7 separate regions of the Homo sapiens genome follow, and all the other regions are linked to region 2. The links are contacts of gene promoters, found by promoter capture Hi-C in blood cells and fetal thymus (Javierre and others, 2016). All regions are on one chromosome and are shown on one strand. Each heading gives the region's core, a stretch centred on a gene start or on the middle of the fragment in contact. The rest is flanking DNA. Distances are from core to core; before and after follow the strand shown. Region 1 has its middle 5.7 kb from the start of NLRP1. Region 2 holds the start of WSCD1 (WSC domain containing 1). Region 3 has its middle 72 kb from the start of NLRP1. Region 4 overlaps AIPL1 (AIP like 1 HSP90 co-chaperone). Region 5 has its middle 22 kb from the start of NLRP1. Region 6 has its middle 93 kb from the start of NLRP1. Region 7 has its middle 46 kb from the start of NLRP1.

The links. Contacts are between HindIII fragments. The CHiCAGO score rates a contact against its expected background, and 5 or more counts as called.
Region 1: a contact is called between a fragment that was not itself captured here and the fragment with the promoter of WSCD1 in region 2, in 1 of 17 cell types (endothelial precursors). The highest score is 8.0, in endothelial precursors.
Region 3: a fragment that was not itself captured here is called in contact with the fragment with the promoter of WSCD1 in region 2 in 2 of 17 cell types (M0 macrophages and naive CD8 T cells); the score reaches 6.7 in M0 macrophages.
Region 4: a contact is called between a fragment that was not itself captured here and the fragment with the promoter of WSCD1 in region 2, in 2 of 17 cell types (endothelial precursors and M0 macrophages). The highest score is 10.0, in endothelial precursors.
Region 5: a fragment that was not itself captured here is called in contact with the fragment with the promoter of WSCD1 in region 2 in 3 of 17 cell types (endothelial precursors, total CD8 T cells and M1 macrophages); the score reaches 8.2 in endothelial precursors.
Region 6: a fragment that was not itself captured here is called in contact with the fragment with the promoter of WSCD1 in region 2 in 3 of 17 cell types (endothelial precursors, M0 macrophages and naive B cells); the score reaches 6.5 in endothelial precursors.
Region 7: a fragment that was not itself captured here is called in contact with the fragment with the promoter of WSCD1 in region 2 in 4 of 17 cell types (endothelial precursors, M2 macrophages, naive CD8 T cells and 1 more); the score reaches 7.0 in endothelial precursors.

The regions. Positions count from the first base shown.
Region 1 is chr17:5,588,656-5,591,749 of GRCh38, forward strand. No RefSeq gene overlaps it. Among named protein-coding and RNA genes, the nearest start is that of NLRP1, 5.7 kb to the left of the region's middle. The HindIII fragment of the contact is 371 bases long and covers 1,179-1,549 here.
Region 2 is chr17:6,068,969-6,071,960 of GRCh38, forward strand. WSCD1 (WSC domain containing 1) reads left to right here and starts at 1,411. Exons shown (of 9, transcript NM_015253.2): 1 at 1,411-1,684. RefSeq lists an enhancer at 647-1,478. The HindIII fragment of the contact is 6,207 bases long and covers 1-2,992 here.
Region 3 is chr17:5,655,074-5,658,174 of GRCh38, forward strand. No RefSeq gene overlaps it. Among named protein-coding and RNA genes, the nearest start is that of NLRP1, 72 kb to the left of the region's middle. The HindIII fragment of the contact is 3,094 bases long and covers 34-3,101 here.
Region 4 is chr17:6,421,032-6,424,097 of GRCh38, forward strand. It overlaps AIPL1 (AIP like 1 HSP90 co-chaperone), which reads right to left. Exons shown (of 6, transcript NM_014336.5): 6 at 2,707-3,066. Among named protein-coding and RNA genes, the nearest start is that of AIPL1, 13 kb to the right of the region's middle. The HindIII fragment of the contact is 7,641 bases long and covers 1-3,066 here.
Region 5 is chr17:5,605,364-5,608,460 of GRCh38, forward strand. No RefSeq gene overlaps it. Among named protein-coding and RNA genes, the nearest start is that of NLRP1, 22 kb to the left of the region's middle. The HindIII fragment of the contact is 3,240 bases long and covers 1-2,879 here.
Region 6 is chr17:5,675,811-5,678,760 of GRCh38, forward strand. No RefSeq gene overlaps it. Among named protein-coding and RNA genes, the nearest start is that of NLRP1, 93 kb to the left of the region's middle. The HindIII fragment of the contact is 4,030 bases long and covers 1-2,950 here.
Region 7 is chr17:5,629,369-5,632,223 of GRCh38, forward strand. No RefSeq gene overlaps it. Among named protein-coding and RNA genes, the nearest start is that of NLRP1, 46 kb to the left of the region's middle. The HindIII fragment of the contact is 3,470 bases long and covers 1-2,855 here.

The sequences.
Region 1 (3,094 bases), core at 114-2,613, 480 kb before region 2:
AGCAAGGCAAATTTACTTCTGGAGAAGGGTCTCGCTTGCCCTTCTGGCCACTGCAAGAGCACACTGAACAAAGGAGGGAAGGGGTTTTTATCCCTGACCCAGTCAGTCCCTGATGCTGTGTCCGGGCCCCATTGGCTGGAGTTGGACTGCGCAGTCTAAGCTGATCCTGATTGGCTACTTCAAATGGAGCAGGGGTGGGGGCTACAGCAGCGGGAAGAGCAGTTTTGGCCAAATAAGGTACAGATGTGGGTTGTTTCAGATTGTGAATGGATGTGGGTTACAGACTGGGAATGGATGTGAGTTACAGATTGGGAACGGCTGGAAGGTTGTTTACTGTAACTAGGGGCAAGGAGGCAGAACAGTTAGGCTTTGAAAATAGAGGACAAAGAATGAGAGAATTGAACAAGCGGAACCTTTGAAAAGGAACTCACTGTATCCAACAGTGTTATGGACCCAACAAGATCATCTCAATAGTTTGACAATTCATTTCCCCCAAGTTGGTGTGTTTCAGGCTTAGATAAAACGGTGCTTTGAACATCAACAGGTGAAATCTTTTGTTAAAAAACATAGTCTAGTTCATCCAGCCCTCCTCCTCTCCCTGTTACTCCTCTTCCTCCTTCTAGTCTTTCCTCCAGTGTGAAGTGAAGGAAATATTAGGACTTGGTGTTGCCCCTACCATGGTCTGCTTTAATGTCCTGTGAACTTGGACAAGAATACACATACCCGCATCACCATCTTCCAAGAACACACGATAGCCAAAGGTCACAGTCAATTTACATCGGTTACAACAGAACGCATCTCTCACTCTGAGTATTCTCATTTGATCTTAACTGCATTTAAATCTCAGTAAAGAACAATGACTTGTTCCTGCTTTATAGGCCTAAAACACCCACCAATAAGGTCCTCTTAGAAACCAGGCAAGGCACACCCAGGTCTCTATGCTAAACGGAGGAAGTCATGCATAACTTTTCAGAGACCCTTTTTACTTTGAAAACATTTCAAACTTACAGGAAAATGTCAAGAGTTGTACAGTGAACTCCCATATAACCTTAACCTACATTCACCAATTATTAACATTTACTATTGTTTTATCTTTTAATTGTGTTTGCTGATTATTGGGAGTAAGTTGCAGATATGATAACATTTACTTCTTTTTTTTTTTTTTCCCCTGAGATGGAAGCTTGCTCTGTTGCCCAGGCTGGAGTGCAGTGGCACGATTGTCAGCTCACTACAACCTCTGCCTCCTGGGTTCAAGCGTTTCTCCTGCCTCAGCCTCTCTAGTAGCTGGGATTACAGGTGCCTGCCACCATGCCTGGCTAATTTTTGTATTTTTGTAGAGATGGGGTTTTGCCATGTTGGCCAGGCTGGTCTCGAACTCCTGACCTCAGGTGATCTGCACCCCCCCCCCCCTTGGCATCCCGAAGTGCTGGCATTACAGGCATGAGCCATCACAACTGGCCCATAACATTTACTTCTAAGAACTTTGGCAGTATCTACTAAGAATCAGGATGTTTTCTTATATGCCACTGTACAATGATAAAATTCAGGAAGCTTAAAACATTGATGCAATACTACTATCCAATTACATGTAACTTTTAAAATGACATTTTCATCTTGTTGTTTAGATTTATTAGGATTATAAAAATATAATACAGAAATATGTAGGGGGAAAAATAAAAATGTTCTTTTGACTTTCTGCACCATCAGATCTACTTCCCAGGAATAACCAATGTTACATGAATGTTTCAGTGTTCCACGAAAAAAAAAACACAGTTTTACATGAACACAGTTACTTTTCTATGTGCCAAATATATAGGATCTAAGTTTTTTAGGAGTGAATTTTTTTCCTCTTAAAATATTTTGCAGATCCCTCCATGTTAGTACATATGGATCTAAGTCGTTCTTTCTTCTCTTTTTGTAATTGTTGAGTTTTTCATAGTTTGGATCTACTATAATTTATTTGATTAGTCAAATTTGATGGAAATCTAGCTGGCTTTCATTTGCATTTTCCTGTTACCAGCCACATGGTGATAACCAACTTCGTACACAAGTGTATCTTATCACACACATGTGAGTACCTCCAAGGGACAGAGTCCCAGAAAAGGAATTTCTGGGTTGAAGAGATCACACATATAAAAATTTGGGTTCAGAAATGTGCTTCATGCCTGTAATCCCAGCACTTTGGGAAGCCAAGGTGGGCGGATCACGAGGTCAGGAGATTGAGACCATCCTGGCTAACATGATGAAACCCCATCTCTACTAAAAATACAAAAAGAAATTACCCGGGCATGGTGGCGGGTGCCTGTAGTCCCAGCTACTCGGGAGGTTGAGGCAGGGGAATGGCGTGAACCCGGGAGGCGGAGGTTACAGTGAGCCGAGATTGCGCCACTACACTCCAGCCTGGGCGACAGAGTGAGACTCCGTCTCAAAAAAAAAAAGAAAAAAAAGAAATATGCTTCTCTTGAGAGTTCATTATTTTTGTCTTTCAACCACGGCATCAAGCAACTAGACTCATGCATCTTTTATTTGTCTTCTGGGAGGTTTTCAAGTCAGAGGTTTGGCCCATCTCTTAAAAATGTACATGCCAAGTTCAATCTTAAAGCACATGATATGTCTACAGTGTTAACTCCTGGTTTCATCTTATTTTCTCCCTACTCTTGTTTTAATTTTGCTTGCTGTACATACTAAGGTAATAACATTTTAATTTTATCATGTATCTTTATATGTATGTAAATTTGTTCACTGAGTCGCTCCAGAACAATGTGCTGTGAGTACACAAAATGGTTGAATCCAGTTTTCTTTCTTTCCTCCCCTCCCCTCCCCTCCTCTCCTTTCCTTTCCTTCTTTTTTTTTTTTTTTCTCTCACCCTGTCCCCCAGGCTGGAGTGCAGCGGCACGATCTCGGCTCACTGCAACCTCCACCTCCCCGGTTCAAGCGATTCTTGTGCCTCAGCCTCCCAAGTAGCTGGGATTACAGGCATGCACCACCACATCCAGCTGATTTTTTATTTTTTAAATTTTTAGTAGAGACAGGGTTTCACCATGTTGGCCAGGCTGGTCTTGAACTCCTGACCTCAGGTGATCCGCCCACCTCG
Region 2 (2,992 bases), core at 161-2,660:
GCGCCACCTGACTGACCCGCGTAAGGAGGGACTGTGACTGGTCCCCAGGCAAACGCTTTCCCTGCCACCTGCACCTGTTGCAAGCCAGCTCCTCGGAGCCAGGCCAAGCAGCTCTGCCCCTAGCGGGAGTCGGAGGCATGAAACTCCCTTTTAGGAAGACGGAGTAAGAGGCACCACCACCTGCTCCTGCTGCCTCTGCTGTCCTCAGCTTCTGGGAGCATCTTAGCAGCCAGCTCCGGGTGAGGACAGGGTCCACCGGTGCACATGGCAGAGCAGGGCAGATGCTGTGACTTGGCGGCTTTGGGGGAACAGGGTGGGGCTCCTCCCTGGGAAAAATCTTTAGGTTTGGATCCAGCCTTTATTTAAAGAGGGGGATTGTGTATAGACTTGTGTGACTGTTCAGCCTCTTTCCACCTCGGTGCGTGTGTGTGTGTGTGTGTGTGTGTGTGTGTGTGTGTGTGAGAGAGAGAGAGAGAGAGAGAGCCTGTGGGTCAATGCCCAGTATGCCCCTCTGAGAGTGTGTCTGTTAGTAGACACCAGTGTGTGACATTGCTTCTGTGGGCAACTATGTCAAGGCGTGGGTTTGTCACTGTGTGCGGTGTGGAGCAGTATGATAAGCCGGCGGCCGACCCCCGAGTGTGTAGACGCGGGAGCTGGTGTCAGGGTATTTGTAGGGCTGCAATTCTGTGTAGGTCTGTCTCAGATTGTGTGAGAGTGTCTGTGTTCCAGCAGGTGCTTGTTTCTGAGTGTGAATGTGTGTGAAGCTGTGACCGTCTGTCTCTAGCTCTGCATGGGACGGTGATCCGGTGTGTGTGTGTGTGTGTGTGTGTGTGCGTGCGTGTGTGGTGTGTGTGTGTATTAGAGTGCACTCTAAACTGTGTGGCTGTGTGTGTACGTGTGCGTGCCTGTCACAGTGGCCCAGTCTGCTTCTGGGTGAGTGGGGCAGAGCCCAGAGAGTGTGTGTGTGAGTGTGGGTGTCGGTGTCTCTGGGAAGCAGTGATTCGGGATGTGTGTGTCAGGCAGTGTGCGGCTGTCGCTGTGAGTCTGCATGGGAGAGTGGCGGCGTGCTCTCCTCTGCGCGGCAGTGCCCCGTGTGTTTGTGGGTCTGTGTCTGGGTGTGAGCGTCATGGTGCGTGTGTTAGAGCCCGTGGGGCCCCGGTGAAAGGCTGTGGCTCTGGGTGACTGGTGTGTGTGTGTGTGTGTGTGTGTATCAGAGTGGGTGGCGGCGTCTCTGCTCGGCAGTGGCGCGTGTGGCCCGCCCCGCGCGCGTGTTCTCGCGGGCCGGGGCAGGGCGTGGGCCCCCTCCGGCGGAGCCGCGACCCCTCCCCCGGGCGGCGGGAGGTGCGCACCGGCGCCTCTAGGACCCGGCGGCGGCCGGCCGCTGTCCCCGGGCCGCGCGAGTGAGCATGTGCAGAGCCCGGCGCCCGCTCGCCCGCCCGCTGCCCGCCCCGGCTCCGCGCCCGCCCGCCCGCCCCGCCGTTCAGCCCGGACGCCAGCAGCCCCGGGGAGCCAGGCGGCGGCGCCCTGTGCCCGGGCGCGTGGGTCCGCTTGCCGCGGGCGGCCGGAGACGTGCGGGCGCCGGGGCTTCTGGGCTCCGGGCACTGCGGGGGGCTGCGGGCTCGGCGCCCGGGGAAGGCGGGCCATGGGCGCGGGTGCGGGCGCCCCAGCCGGCCGCGATCGCGGGGTGAGTCCTGTCTCTCGGCGCTCCAGCCGGACCCCCGCGCGGGCTGCGAGCAGGGTGTTCCCCTTGCCGCGGGCAAACAAGTTTGTGCAGACGCGGTTGGGAGCGCGGCGGGGCTGCACCTGCTCCGGCTGCAGGGCGGGCTTGCCGGGGGCACCTTCCCGGGGGCCCGGGGCGGCTCGGCCGGGGCAGGGGAGAGTGAGCGGGTGCGTGCAGGGGTTGTGGGGGGGCGGGGGCGGCGCTCGGCGCGGCCGGGATGGGGTGGGGGTGCGCGAGGCGCCGCACGAGCCGCGTCCCCCTCCGGAGTCCTGAGAGCCCGTCCGTCACCCGGGAGGGCGCTGCGGTTGGTCCCGGGGAGGGGGCGAGGGCAGGGTGTGGGGTGCGCACAGCTTCCCTCCTAGGCGGCGACGTTTACCCAGAAGCAGCTCCCTCTCGTTCCGCTACCAAGAGAGGCTTCCGGTCAGCGGAGGGTTTGCTCCGTCTCTTGGTGAACTTGAACAGAGGCAGAGGCAAAAGCAAAACGTATGTATTTTGTCCAGAAAATTACCTAGTGTAGAGCTTTGCGTCTTCGTAGGTGTGGACGGAGACTCACGACTGAAGGTTGCTAAATTGCGTTTTTCTTGGCTACTCAGGAGCGTACGTACCTGGCTGGGTCCCCTGCCTCCGGGTAACCTCGCTGGTGGTTTTCCTGAGCATTTGTGCGCCTGGGATGATGCCTGCTCTGCTGATCGGGAATGCGGGTGGGGAAGGGGACCGCTCTTCCTTCCGCTGAGCAGTGGGAAGGCTCATATAGGAGTTCTAGCCTCATAGCCCTGCACTGGGATCCAGCTGCTCCCCACACTGGCCCTGCCCCTGCAGCTCCCAAGATGGACAGATGCAGGACTCCGCTGTACTTTTCTAACATGAGATACCCGCATCCCTCTTGTTGCTGGAACAGCATGCTTAGGTTTATGGAGGCACTTGGTTTATCCCACTTTGGCATCAGGAGTGGGGGCCTTTCTTTTTTCCTCTGATTTGCCTAGGTTGTCAGGCACAGAAAGTGAGGGTGGTGGGGAGTGAAAGTTACAGGAGATATAAAGCTGGCTTGCCCTGCGCTGTTTGCAATCACCCACTCCTGGTGGCTGCAGGTGCTGGGGAGAGAGCTAGGGGAGGTTTCCTTGGGCTATGGGAGAATGAGGTTTGTCTCTCTCAATCATGCCCCCACCCCCACACACTTAGATTGGCCCTCAGGAGATCCTCCGGGAAGGGGCCTCAACCGGCTGCCAGAGCTCAGGGTTTCTAGGAGGAAGAGCAGGAGCTCTCCCAGGCATG
Region 3 (3,101 bases), core at 331-2,830, 410 kb before region 2:
GGTGACATTTAAGCTCATGCTTAAATGATGAGAAGCTTGGGCCACACAGAACTTGGTGGTCAGAACAGGCAGGTGCATTTCCTTGAACCCGGATGTGTTTCCTACCAACCAGGCAAGGCTTTTGGTTACATTACTTCAGGTAGGAGCTTTCTCCTGCCCAATTCAGCAATATCTACAAGATGCCCCCGCTGTCTTGTGTTAGAATATCAGGTGAAATGTATCTGAGCACATGGGATTCCTTCTAACAGTTGTTCAATGAAGAGCGTTGGCTCTGGGATGATGGACACAGGGAATCTCCCCCATCCTCAGCACGTCTCAGGAGTCTCTGCTGAAATTTGGGTCTTGTTTGGTCGAAAGAGAAAACCGTGCCTGGAGTAGCTGTGGAATAAGGGAGAACCGTCTTGGCCCTGGAGGCAGAGAGGCCTGGGGCTGGATCTCAGCTCCACCATGGACTAACCTCACAGCTTGGGCAAACGGCCTTCCTCTTTGAATGAGCTTCCCAAGCTGTGAAATGGAGGTCACAATGCCTGCCTCAGGGAGAGGTTGTGCAGGTTCAGCGAGGTGATAGGTCCTCCACTTCTGTTATATCCAAGACATTCAAACAATTATAATAACACACTATGATGTAACACTATTCAAATAATTATTAACCCCATGCAAGTTCAATTTTTATGATGTGGCAAGATGCATTGCCCCCTCCATTATAATGAGTAGGGGTGTGTGTTTGTGTGTGTGTGAGAGAGAGAGAGAGAGAGAGAGAGAGAGAGAGAAAGAGAGAGAGAGAGATTTGAAACAAACACGCCAGTCAGAGTTGGTGCCATGCCCTCAGAGAGGGTGTCATTCACAGTGGGAATGCAGAGTCAAATGTTTCTTAGCACAACAATGTGCTGGAATAGTTTCTCTTAAAGGACAAGGTCAATGTTGTCTTAACAGGAGGAATAACCTTTTCTCATGTGGGAAACATTATGACTTGCTCTGATGTGGTGTCTTTGGGCCTTACGTAAACTCTGAATGAGGATTCCAGGCCACGCTTTCTCCTCGCTCCTGGGAGCAGAGCCCGCACCCTCCTCTTTGGTTGGTTATTTTATTTTAAAATAACTGTTTCAGTTTAGAATAGTTTTAGATGTATAGGAAAGTTGCAAGAATATTACAGAGAGTTCCCGTATACCCCACACCCAGTTTCTCCCATACACACCTTCTACTTTGTGACTCAGCAAGGATGGAGTTGGGGAGAGCCTGTGCTGGCACCCAGCGGGAGCATCTTAACAAAACAGAAGGACCCAATGGGTCACCAAAGGAAGGGATAGAAGCTGGAAAGAAGCAAGGGTGGAAGAGAAGGTGTAGAGAAGACCCCAACCGCGGGTGCAGGAGGCAGCGACAGTTACTGAATTTCCCAAATTTTTAGCAAACTTCCCTCCCTCAGCCTGTACCACGAGCAATCAAAAACACACTTGGAACAGAACAGAGGGACTTTGCCACACCTGGAGTATATTTCGTATTATTTCCAGAGCAGGTGGTGTAGGAAATACCTATTGCCAAATAAGAAATGCTACAGACAGATCAAGTCAAAGTGCATAAGGAAAAGAACCGTTTTAAATGCTGAAATCTCAGAGGTAGTTAATACTTCTCAGAGGAAGAAAAGTGAGTTATTTGTAACTCACTTTTCACGGTCCTGATTTTGAGGTGTGTGTCTGCCATAAAAACATGCTAGTCTTTAGGGGGGCAAGCTCTGCTGTCTTGAGCTCTTTCTTCTTAGACTCTCAGAACAAATATGTAGATGTAATGTTTTTACTTAAGATTACACATATTGGCCAGGCGTGGTGGCTCATGCCTGTAATCCCAGCACTTTGGGAGGCCAAGGCGGACGGATCATGAGGTCAGGAGATCGAGGCCATCCTGGCTAACAAGGTGAAACCCCGTTTCTACTAAAAATACAAAAAAATTAGCCAGGCGTGGTGGCGGGCACCTGTAGTCCCAGCTACTCAGGAGGCTGAGGCAGGAGAATGGTGTGAACCCAGGAGGTGGAGCTTGCAGTGAGCCAAGATCGTGCCACTGCACTCCAGCCTGGGTGACAGAGCAACACTCCGTCTCAACAACAACAACAAAAAAAGATTGCACATATTTTCCATGTATTATTGTATGGACATGGCTTTAGGGTTCCTCTCCCAAACCATAGCAGACTCTGGAGAGAGGGTGGGGAGATCTCAAATTTTTCTGGGGCTGGATGATTGGGCACGTGGGTTGGTGGCTTTGCAGAGGGAACCTGTTGCTTCAGTGACGTGGGGCAGATGGCTCAGCGGTGGATGGCGGAGCAAGGTGATTGCTGGCTGCCATCTCTTGAATGATCCTGGCATGAGCTCCTCCTGTTCCTCCTGGGATTGCTATGGAAACCCAGACTGAGTTGTTGTCTCTGTGTCGGGGCTTTCCTGGGTGTTTTTCCTCCTGGCCTCAACGCTTACAAATCATTCTTTCCTGTGTGCAGATCAGGTGATTCTCCCAGGCCCTGTCTGGGCAGGGTGACTGACAAGTCAATTTGGTCAGACAATTGCTTGGGCTGATTTTTCCATTGCACTGAGCTCCTTGTTTTGGCTCCTGGTAAACTGGGTTTGATCTGGGGCTGGGAGGTGGAGGTTGGGGATCAGGAAGGGAGGGAGGGGATGCCATGTGAGCCTTCTCTTTCTCAGGGGAGCCTGAGAGGGAACGGTGAGAATCCACAGTCCCCAGGTCTGAAGCAGGGAGCTGGGCTGTGTCGAGATTGGGGATGGAGGTATCATTCCCACTTTAAAGATGAAGACATTGAGTTCAGGGAGTTGAGCTGCTTTACCCAAAGCCACATGACTTACGTGGCAGAACCTGGACTCTACCTGAGGGCCTGGTGGGGAGCACGGTGTCCTTTTCGCTGCTTAAGTGGAGGGAGAACTGAAAGAAGCCTTTGCCTGATGTTCTGTGTCTCCTTTTTGTGATGGGGAAGGATTTTGGCTACTGTTTTAGGTCTGTGGTTCATGTTGCCCAAAGCACTGACGACAAATCTGCACATGACCTGACCTTGGGCTTTGGGCAACCCTCTAGATGCCAGTTCCCGAGAAAGACCCTCCACACTT
Region 4 (3,066 bases), core at 272-2,771, 350 kb after region 2:
GCCCAGCAGGTTACTTTCTAAGGCAAAGGAATTTTGCAGCTGTGATTATTACATTAAGGGCCTTGAGGTGGGGAGGTGAGCCTGGATTACCTGGCAGGTGGGGGCAATGTAAGCACAAGGGTCCTTATAAGAGGGAGACAGGAGGGTCAGGGACCCGCAGAAGCCTCATGGTGACGGAAGCAGAGGGACGCAGAGTGGAAGATGCTCCATTGCTGCCTTTGAAGGGGCCACAAGGCAAGGAATACAGGCAGCCTCTAAAAGCTGAAATAGGCAGGAAAGAAAATGGACTCTCTCCTCCGGCCTCTGGAAAGAACACAGCCCTGCCTGCCAACCCGTTTTAGAATCCCTGACCTCTGGAACTATAAGAGAATACGTGTGTGTTGTTTTAAGCCATTAAGTTTGTGGTAATTTGCTGCATCCACCATGGGAAACTATTGCCCCTGCACAATACCCGAGGAAGGGGGTGTCCCTCGGGCCACTCAGCCCCTTACTGCTGACCCAAAGGACTCCCTGGTCTCAGGGTGTCTGTCAACTCCAGAGGTCAGTATGGTGGCTCCTGCCTGGGAGCAAATGCCTTGGTTTGGTTAACTAGTAATGATTCCTGAGGACGTGCCAGGCCAAAGGGGGCTTCAAAACCCACACAAGGTCGTTTCGTGCTGACCCTTCCAACTGCTCCCAAACAAAGGCTATTGGCATTGCCGCAGGTTGCTGCCTGATAGAAGTTTCACATTCTCTCCTTTTTTAAAAAAAAATGCATCATACCCACATACGAAGCATCCAGTGAAGGAGGCAGCACAGTATAGAAAAGAAAAGAAAAGAAAAAAAAGAAAAGAAAAGAAAAGAAAAGAAAAGAAAAGAAAAGAAAAGAAAAGAAAGCCCCAGCCCAGACTCCTGGAAACCTGATGCTAATCCTGGAGCTACTGCCCCTCTCTAAGCCTCAGTTTCCCCATCTGTACAAGGGGTTGGGACTGAGTTGCCTCCAAGGACCTAGTTTGCTGGCAGCCTCATTCCATAGTTCTAAATGCCTCCTTTCCTGTCATCAGCTTGCCTGACCTTGTGACCTGCAGCGTCAGGGATGGTCAGGGCTGATGGAGAACCGCCACATCCGGAGCCCAAAGCGGCCATCTCCTACCCTGGGGACCCGTCTGCTTGGTCTCTGCTGCCACCTGCTGGCAACTTGAAAACAAAGCCTTCCGGCTGGATCTCCGGGAAAGAAGCCCTTGGAAGAGAGGCCCTGCAAACTATTGCAACTGCCCGCCCAGACCTGACCAGCCACGCCCTTCCTTTAGGTTGGTTTTCAGGGAGCAGAAGGAAGCCCATGCAGCAACCAGAGCCCTGGATGGGAGGCTGCCTGCATCTCTCCCCATGTCTGCCTCCCGCCTCCTCTGCACTAGGAAGATGGGGTGTGGGATGCGGCAGTTTCTGAACAGTGGTTCTACTGGCCCAGCCTCTGCCTTCAGAGGATTGTAACAATAGGACAAGGGTCCCTGTGCACCCTCTCTCCAGGGTATCTCCACCACATGCTATGGGCTTCCTGGTCCCTATCCCCTTTTTCCTGTTTTCAGACATCCAGAGGCATCAGAAGGGGAGCTGTCCACACGGGATGAGCCGGACAGGACCAAGCCCGAGCATAGGCTGCATTCGGGCCTCTGTCCAGCCAGGGAGCCCACAGGCCACGTTCTCACCACAAATGAGGGGGGCACCCTCGCTGCTCGTTGTCCCCAAAAGAAAGGGTAGCTGGTAGGATAGCTACATTCAGACAATGGACAGGGCAAAGGAGACTGGGAAGTCTGCGAGCCACAGTCCCTGGCCCCGAAGTAATGCCCCTTGCCAGGCCCCTCATCTGTTTCTGAGCCACACTCGACTCTGGCTGCCCAGACAACATCCAGGCCTTTCCCCGTAGGCAGCGCTGCCAGGAGGCAGCAGTGAAGGTCCCCTTGGCTCTCTGGCCCCAGCCTCCCTCCCTGTTCCACCTTCTGCAGTTCGAGGCACTCGCTTTGGCCTCAGGACACACCTGCCTTGCTCCCTCTGCAGGCCATAACATCCCCTTCCTCTGACCTCTTCTAAAATCTCCTCTCTCACGTGGTTCCTTCATACTATGGCCCACTGGACTACTGAGCCTAATCATCCAAAAATTGAAACCCCTTTTCTTCAAGGGTGGGAAGGCTTACACATCAAACCTTCTAGTACTGCAAGAAAAAAGGAAGAAGAGGCCGGGCGCGGTGGCTCACGCCTGTAATCCCAACACTTTGGGAGGCCGAGGTGGGCAGATCACCAGAGGTCAGGAGTTCGAGAGCAGCTGGCCAACATGGTGAAACCCCGTCTCTACTAAAAATACAAAAAATTAGCCAGGCACAGTGGCACACACCTGTAATCCCAGCTACTCAGGAGGCTGAGGCACGAGAATTGCTTGAACCTGGGAGGTGGAGGTTGGAGGTTGCAGTGAGCCGAGATCAAGCCAGTGCATTCCAGCCTGGGCAACAGAGTGAGACTCCATCTCAAAAAAAAAATGAAAAAGAAAAAAGGAAGAGGAGAAGAGAAGAAAAACATAAAACACTGCCATGTTAAAATGTACATTATCACTCCAGATGCCAGAAATATCCTCATTCTGGTGTCCCAGGGGTCACGAAATTGGAACCACAGAGAAAGCAATGCAGTGGAAGCATTGCGCTGGGCCCTGTGGGGAAACACACCTACACAGCCACAATCATGCAAATGCTGTTTATTGATTTTCAGATTGTAGAATCAACCTATGGACAAAGCACAGAAGATTTAGTTTTGCTTACAGAGCAGAAGGTAGATGTTAACAACAAGGAAGATGGAAAAGTAAAGTACATCAGAACTTTAGGGATACAGTTAGCGCTGGGGGAACCCCTGCTGGGTGGAGACAAGCTCTGGGGCAGAAGAGAAGCCCAGGAAGCCCTTGGCAGTTGACTACGTGGCCCTGGGCTGGATACTTCGTCGCCCCCCTGCCCCACCCCACACACCTGGGTGGTGCTAGAGGATGTCGCTGGCGTGATAGCCCCTCCTCGTACCCGTCCTTTAGGGAGGACGAAGAGGAGGGAG
Region 5 (3,097 bases), core at 10-2,509, 460 kb before region 2:
CAGCCTCCCAAGTAGCTGGGATTATAGGTTCCTGCCACCACGTCTGGCTGATTTTTCTAATTTTAGTAGAGACAGGGTTTCACCATGTTGGCCAGGCTGGTCTTGAACTCCTAACCCCAGGTGATCCACCCACCTTGGCCTCCCAAAGTGCTAGGATTAAGGCATGAGCCACTGTGCCCGGCCTCAGTTAGCTTTTGTTGTGTAACAAACCACCTAAATTTTAGTTGCTTAAACTATCATTTGTTTATTACGTTCAGATTTTGTAGGTGAACAATTTGGGCTGTGTTTAGCAGGATGGTTCTTCTGTTGGGCCTAAATCTCTCCTGCATTTTTGGTCAGCTCATAGGTCAGCTCGGGTTGTGGGGTTTATGACATCTTTGCTGAGATGGCTGGGATGACTGGAGCCGCTCTTCCTCTGATTGTCTGAGGGTTCCAAGAGCCACAAGAGAGAACAAGCCCCAGGGCACAAACACTTTCCAAATATCTTCTTGCCACACATTGCTATTGTCCCATTGGCTGAAGCAAGTCACACAGCAAGTACTGAATCAGGTAAGGGGAAGATAAGGGGATGGAGAAAGGGCTGGGTGTGGTGGCTCACACCTGTAATCCCAGCACTTGGGGGGCCGAGGTGGGCAGATCACTTGAGGCCAGGAGTTTGAGACCAGACTGGGCAATACAGCAAAATCCCATCTCTAAAAAAAAAAAAAAATACAAAAACTAGCTGGGTGTGGTGGCAGGCACCTGTAGTCCTAGCTACCAAGGAGGCCGAGGTGGGAGGATCACCTGAGCCTGGGAGGTTGAGGCTGCAGTGAGCTGTGATTGTACCTGTGTATTCCAGTATGCGTGACAGAGTGAGACCCTGTCTCAAAAAAAAAAAAAAAAAAAAAGAAAGAGTGAACAAAGTTGGAGCCATAAACACAATAATCTACCCCAGTGAGGAGAGCTAACATTGGGAGAGAGCCACTGTTTCTACCCTAAGATGCAAATGGAAAGAGTGGTTCTAGAGAAGATGTGGAATGCAGAAGACTCTGATTCCAATACAACAGGAGCCACAGGGCACACTGTGTTGGAAGAAGTGTTTGGGCACAGTATATATCTGGAGAGGAGATGGCAGAGAGAGAAGTTTGCACTTAGGACCGAAAGTAAGGATGGAGGGAACAGTTCAACCTGGAAACAGTGCCAGGCTTTGGACTAGGAATGCTGCCTGCTCCATCTTATTTGGTCCCTACAGCTGCAGGTGAGAAAATGGGCTCAGAGAGGTTAAGCAACATGCCCAAGGTCAAGGTCACACAGTGAGAAAGTGCGGATTTAAGCCCAATTGTCTGTGGATCTCAGGTGTGAAGGAAACAGGATTTGGCTGACGATGGCAGTGAAGGAGGGGGAGGGGAATGGGGTAAAGGAGTGCTGAAGTGCAGAGATCTGTGGCCCCAGCTCACCCCAATGTTGAGCAGAGTGAGCCTGGACCAAGACGCCTCTTTGCCAGCATGGAGTTCTGGACTGCAAGCTCCTGGGGCATGGACCTCATTCCTGTTCTAGTCCTCCTGCCCACAGCATCTAGCAGAGTTCTGAGACTCGGCACTGAGGGGCACATCCCATGTGCCCGGTGGTTTACTGCCGCTGTCTCACTTAGCCCTCCTAACAGCACGGATGTGGCATATGCCACTATTATCCCCATTCTACACATGAGACAACCACGGCCTGGAGAACTAAGACACGTCTTTGTGTTTGCAGACTTAGTGAGTAGAGAAGCCAGGGCTTAAAGATGGGGCCGTGGAGCCCAAAGTTCATGCTCTGAAGTGCTGGCTAGGCTGCCTCAGGGAGGAAGCAGTGCACCAAAGGGAAGGGTGGCAGGAGGGGGAGAGCCTGGATATGGAAACCCTCACGGTGAGGGGTTTGACACGTCACCATTGAAAACATGTGAGGACTTATTACTACTCTCCAGGATTGGACTAAGTGTTTTCTTTTCTTTTTTTTTGAGACGGAGTTTTGCTCTTGTTGCCCAGACTGGAGTGTAATGGCGCGATCTCAGCTCACCGCAACCTCCGCCTCCTGGGTTCAAGTGATTCTCCTGCCTCAGCCTCTTCAGTAGCTGGGATTACAGGCATGCGCCACCATGCCCGGCTAATTTTGTATTTTTAGTGAAGATGGGGTTTCACCATGTTGGTCAGGCTGGTCTCGAACTCCTGACTTCAGGTGATCTGCCTGCCTCAGCCTCCCGAAGTGTTGGGATTACAGGCGTGAGCCACCGCACCTGGCCTGGATTAAGTGTTTTCTATATCTTATTTAATCCTCAAAAATTACGTGGGGGCTGGGCACTGTGGCTCAGCCCTGAAATCCTAGCACTTTGGGAGGCCAACACGGGAAGATCACTTGAGGCCAGGAGTTAGAGACCAGCCTGGGAAACATGGGGAGACCCCCTGTTTCTATAAAAGGTAGAGAAAATTAGCCAGGTATGGTGGCATGTGTCTGTGGTCCTGGCTACTCAGAAGGCTGAGGTTGGAATATTGCTTAAGCCTAGGAGTTTGAGGCTGCAGTGAAGTATGATCATGCCACTGCACTACAGTCTGGGTGAAAGAACAAGACCCTGTTTCAAGAAAAAAAAAAAGTACTTGAGGATACATATTACTTGTTTGCCCATTTGAGAGGTGAGAAAACTGAGGATCAGTGAGGTGAGCTCACTTGCCAAAAACCACACTACTACTAAGAAGAGGCAAAGCTGCAGGCAAATCTGGTCAGGGCTAACCTCAAAGCCCACGCTTAACCACTGCACCACCCAGCACTTTGCTATCCAACACTGAGTGCTTCAGCCTTGCACTATCCGGGCCCATGCTGGGTGCAAGACAAGGCTGCAAAGGCAGATATTTGTGGGATGTGCTGCAAGCTTTGATTACCCAGAAGACTCTTGGGAGAGGGAGGGTCAGACATTTTTGTTGCTTCTTACGATTGAATTTTTGGAACACTCTGGTGAGAGTTGAGTTGAGAATTTGGCACAGAGAGAGCACCCCAAAAATGATGGCTGTGCTGAACCAAATTGTGGCTCTTCCTGGAGTGTGACACTTCCAGCCAGAGGCCCTCAGGTATGCACAAGAGCAGCAAT
Region 6 (2,950 bases), core at 220-2,719, 390 kb before region 2:
TTGGTGTAATAGTTCCCTATTGAACTGTGTCAGACTAATTATGTCAGTTCCTTTTCATTCCAGTTTAGTGCTTCTCCAGAGAGTCGCAGTGCAGCACCGGTAATAATGATTAAACTGCTGTCTAATGCTCCACTGGATGGCCAAACCAAACAGGGGAAAATTCCTTGCTGAAGATGGGACTCTCAGCATCCCTTGTACTTGATGCAATTTGGTGTTTTAAAAGCCATTACCTGGAGGTCATTTCCACATGACAATGGAGGGCTGGTAGTGTTTCTTGGGGATGGCAGACAAAAAAGCATATCAGGGAAGGAAATAGCTTTGCAAGGCAAGAAGTAGCAGAGAGGCAACCCAGGTGCTTTCCATTTGTGTGGTGAGCCCTCAAGTTCTGATGGGGACCATCTGGAGCCGTGCTTTACAACTTAGCTGGCAGAGGAGGGTGTGCAGGAAATGGCCAGGGTAATGAATCAGGACAAGCCAATGTCAAATGCTTAAAGCTCTGCTGCCAGTTCAGAGGAAAAAGCCCAGGGAAGATGAATGAAAATGAAGTCATTTTCACCTTCCTGTAGTCTCATATAGAGCTCTTTGCTCGAGCCTAAATCGAACATGCTTTTTGTCTTTTTGCATAAAGGGAAGGAAGGAAATTTCATGCTTCAACAAGAGCTTCAACAGAAGTTGATGCTCTTCATTGCCTAAAGGGATGCTAGCCTGTTCTGAGCACCTGTTCTTGACGAGTATTAATGAGCCTAATAATAACAACAACTGTTACTATTAGGCATCAGTTACGTGATGACTTTGTGCCAGGCATTGTGTTAAGGGTTTCACAACTGCTAGTTAATATAATCCGTAAAATAACTCTACGGGTAAAAGCTGTCTTATCATTCCCATTTTGTAGATGAGAAACTGGGGCATAGGGAGATTAAGTAACTTGCTCGAGGTCACTCCCAGAACACCCATATCTAACTCTGAAGCCTGTATGCAGAGTTATATTTCCTCTTCGTTCATTCAGTCAGTCAATATGATGAGGGCCTTTCTGTTCTTTAGCCATGAGCTGTGTCCCTCAGACATTTTCTGAACATTACAGACACAGTCTCTGGCTTCCTGGGGCTGAGAGCTCAACAGTAAATTTCAGTACTGGGTGAGCCATTGTATGAGTGGGCAAAGGCAGACAGCTGTGAGAACACCTTCGTTCATTCACTCACAGGTATTTATTTGAGTGTCTACTATGTGAAAGGCTTTGCTGGGTTCTAGGACACTGGGGTCAGCAAAATACCCACAGACTTTGCTTTAATGGAGTTTTTAGTTCATATTATAGAAGCCCATACAGACTGAGACAGGAAATTGGTACGGAGAAGTGGGGGTGCTGCTGTATCAAATACCTAAAACTGTGGAAGCAGCTTTGGAATAGGGTAATGTGGAAAGGCTAGAAGAGTTTTAAGGTGCATGCTAGAGAAAGCCTACATTGCTGTGAAGAGACTATTAAGAGTGATTCTGGTAAGAGCTTAGAAAGAAAAGAGGGGAGCTGTAGGGAAAGTCTCAGTCTTCTTAGAGAATACCTAAGTAATCAAGAATGCTGGTAGAAATATGGATGGTGTCTAAGCCCATTCTGTGCTGCTACAATAAAATGCCAGAGTAACTTATGAAGAAAAGAGAATTTCTCACAGTTCTGGAAGCTGGGAAGTTCAATATCAAGGTGCTGACATCTGGCAAGGGCCTTCTTGCCGTGTCGTCCCATGGTGAAAGATGACAGAGAGAGAGAGAGAGAGAGAGAAGAAAGGGCCAAATTAATCCTTTTATGAGGAACTCACTTCCAGGATAATAAAAGTCCTCTAATCCATTCATGAGGGCAGTGGTCCCATAGCCCAAACACCTCCCATTAGCCTCCACTTCCCAGCACTACTGCATTGAAGATCAAATTTTCAACACACGAACTTTGGGGAACACTTTCAAACCATAGCAGATGGTAAAGGCCATTCTGATGAGGCATCAGATGGAAATGAGGAAGATGTTATTGAACAATGGAGGAAAGGTCATCCTTTTTACAAAGTGGCAAGGAAGTTAGTTGAATTGTGTTTGTGTCTTAGTAGTTTGTAGAAGGTAGAACTTGTGAGTAATGAAATTGGATATTTGGCTGAGGAAATATCTAAGTAAAGTGTTGAAAGAGCAGCTTGGCTTCTCTTGACTTCTTATAGTAAAATGAAAAAAGAGAGAAATGACTTAAAGATGGAATTCTTAATCAGAAAGAAAGCCAAACTTAAAGATTTGGAAACTTCTCAGCCTTTCCATATTGTAAAGAATGAAAAGGTCTGTTCCTAAAGAACTTTAAGGGTGTGGCCCAATGGCCACATCTTACATGGAGTTTTGTCAGCCATCTGAACAGAAGCCAGGGGCTATTGTTCAAGACGATGGAAGAATGAACCCCTTCCATAGCAAGGTGCTCCAGAGATCATCAGAACAACTTCATAGGACGGGCTGCAGGTGCCTGCTGGACCCCTGCAGGCTTTGTGTAGCATCCCTCATATCACAGGCTCCACTCCACTGCATTCCAGGGTTTTGCTGCTTGGCTGCCCATCCAGAAAGCACAGGCAGCAGACTTTGGCTGTGTCTGCGTGGTGCTCAGAGTGCATGAGCTGTGGGGGCAAGCCTACCTTCACCTAGATTTCTAAGAATGGAGCCACCTGAAGTCATGGGTGTGCCACCCAGGCAGAAAACTATAGAGGGCCGCTGGTAGGGCAATGCCTAGTAGTACCAAGGTGGAAAGGTCACCCTGAGACCCCAGAACAGTAGAGGCATCAGTGTGTGATTCCAGCACTGGAAAGCCACAGGCACGCAACTCCAACCTGTGAGAGCTGTGGCAGGGGTTGTATCCAGCAAAGCTGTGAGGGCAGCTTTAGAAGTTGGGTGCCCAACTTCTACCCTGCAAGCCTTTAGGGATGAGACTTCCACACCAGTG
Region 7 (2,855 bases), core at 266-2,765, 440 kb before region 2:
GCTTCAGAAGAAGTTGTCTGCAGCGTAATGGATGCTCCGTCATCAACAGTGTTCCAATATTCTCTCCGGAGAAGCTAACGACGCTGACAAAATACATTGAACTGCTGTTCTCTTCCACACATTCAAATAAAAGGCAGTGTATCTTGATGCAGGGCACATCAGTGGGTGATGGCAAAACATTATTTTTTCTTTATGAATAATAGAAGACATTTGGCTTGCTCATAATCTTTTAAAAACCGTAGTCATAGTAACATGTGTCTTGCCCATTAATATGAGATTTTTTTTCTTCTTAAAGACAACAGCCTGTTTTACAGTGTGTTCTTAGTCCCCCAACAGAGCAGTATCCATTCGATTTGCAACTTGACCGAAGCCAGTTATAAAAAGGAAAGATTGTCTCTGCCACCAGCGAGATTCTTAGCTATTACCCCTGTGGGGTGACAGAAGAGCTAGATTCATTTTGGTCAAAAATTGTAGTTTAGAACAAAAGAGCAAAGTCTCTGATGAAAAGAATGATCAGTGATTGTGCCCAAGTTGGGGGAATGGTCTGCCTACATGTGCTCTTTTCCAAAGGAAAGAACTCAAGTTTCAGGAGAAGTGACCAAAATAGAAAAATAATTCCAAGTGTGCCCAAACCCAAGGGGTCCTTGCCTCTAGCATCAAGGTGGCCCCGACCGGTGCTTGTGGTGGTTACATAAAGGGGTATTACATAAACATGGGGCACGTGTTCTGTTTTTGTAATTGATGCACTTCAATAGGGGAATGGGAATTTCGTAAAAGCAAGCAGGAAAATGTGGATGTTCCATATTAGAAGGTTGAAGAAAGTGAAGTTGATTAGATTGGAGAGGGCAGCAGATGGCTCTCAGGAGACACGATGACCAGTTTTAAATATCTGAGAGTCTATTGGGGGTGAAGGGATTTGACTTGTTTTGTGTGTCCCTGAGGGAAAGAACTGATGGCTATGAATGAGAGGACACCATTAGGGAGGCATATTTCGGGTGAGTGTAAGGAAGAGCTTTCTCCTCATTGTTGCTGTCCAGATAAAGGATAGAAGGCATGAGTACTTATGGTGCCTTGGGTCAGGTTCCCTGGCACATAGCTCTGAGATGAATCTCCAAATGCACAAAGTTTATCAGGAAGTGCCTCCATGATCAATATCTGGTAAAGGAAGCATGACTAGGCAGAGGAAGGAGTTGAGCTATGACAAAACTGCAAAAGAGCTTCAGCTACTCCCCTGGGGAGCCCTGGAGTGGAGGCGGCCCTTTGGCATGGTCCTGAATTGAGGCTGGAGAGTCAGCCCTTTGGAACCTTTCACTGACCAATCATCGGATGCAGCTGTCCCCCAGGGAAGTAGGAGGAGGGATTGTGGATGAGGCTGCTCTTCAGTAGAGGGCAATTCCAGGAGAGCAACTCAGCTGGGAGTCATCAGCCACCAACATTTCCAGGAGCTGGAGGGATGAGTGCCTTTGTCCTAAAGGAGGATCTGGGCAGCATCCCACAGCATCCATTAGAGATGGCTGCTTAATGGAGATGCTGTGACACCCTGCCCCTTGTGTGACTTCTCATGATCCAGTGTTCACATTCTCTAACGAAATACCATAAAGTCCAGATAAGACTCAGTTTATTGACTGTTTCCCCATGGGGCCTCCAGTGTGGATCCTGGATGGAGTCAGAGGCACATCTCCCTTAGTTTCTAGCTTAAAGCTCTTGGCTCCTGGGCAGCATCCGACCAATACTCCTTGGTTCCAGGAAGAAGAGTTCATTCATTCAAATTTCATTCAGTAATATTAATTGAGTGCCTTCTTTTAGGAGTTAGAAATACAACTATGAAGAAGATAAAGTCCTATGCCTGCTGGGACTTATATTCTCGTGGGAGAGCTAGAAAACAATACACAAATAAAATAATCCTGGTAAGGAGAGGTGGAGTGATCATGTGTGTATGTGATGTTTGTATTGGGAATTCAGGGAAGGCCTCCTTGGGGAGTGACACTGCAGCAGATTTGAATGATATGAAGTAGTGATGTCTGAAGATCTGGGGAATAGGGTTCCAGGCAAGAGGAACAGCAAGTGTGAAAGTCTTGAGGTAAGGACAGCCTTGGTGTTTTCATGCTTCTTTTAACTAAGTAGAGTATGGGAAGATGAACCTCAGTTTTTAGGGAGAACCTGCCTTAGTAAAGAGGCAGCTGCATTAGGGGATGTAAAAGGCATTTTCGATGTTAGTAGCCAAAAACCACGCATGGTTCTCAGGAGAGAAGACCCCAGTTCTGTTGCAGAGTGCTTCCTTGGCAGTGGAAACCCAGCTGACATGATTTGTTTCCTCATTTGAAAAATCAAGATGATTTTAGTACCCACTCTGTAGGGCTGTTGTGAGGATCAAAGACTGTGATGTGTGGAGGTACTTAACTTAGAGCCTGGCTCATAATAAGTGCTTGATACATGTTAGCTTTTATTTGTGCTGTATAACTCAAGAGAGCTAAAGAGCTGGGGCTTGAATCTAGGGTTTAAATTCTATCAAAGTCCTTGTTCTATGCAATGTTGCTGTTTCTTTCTCTCTTAGTTTGAGTCTCTGTATGTCTGCTTGTGTGTCTTTCTTTGTGTCTATCTCTATGACTCCTGTACTCCATCTCTGCTTATCTGTCTGTCTCTGTTCTTCACTCCTCTCTCTCTCTCTCCCTCTCTGGCTTTCACTCTGTCTGTTCTTCCTTTCTCTGTTCTCTCTCTCTGCTTCCTTTCTTCCTACCAGACTGAGAGCCCCACTGTCTTCTATAGGCCCAAGAGCAGGCAACTCTCCACGGTGCTGACGAGGTGTGTAGGTCCCAGACTTCCATCTCTCATTAGGGAACAGAAATGGATGGCAG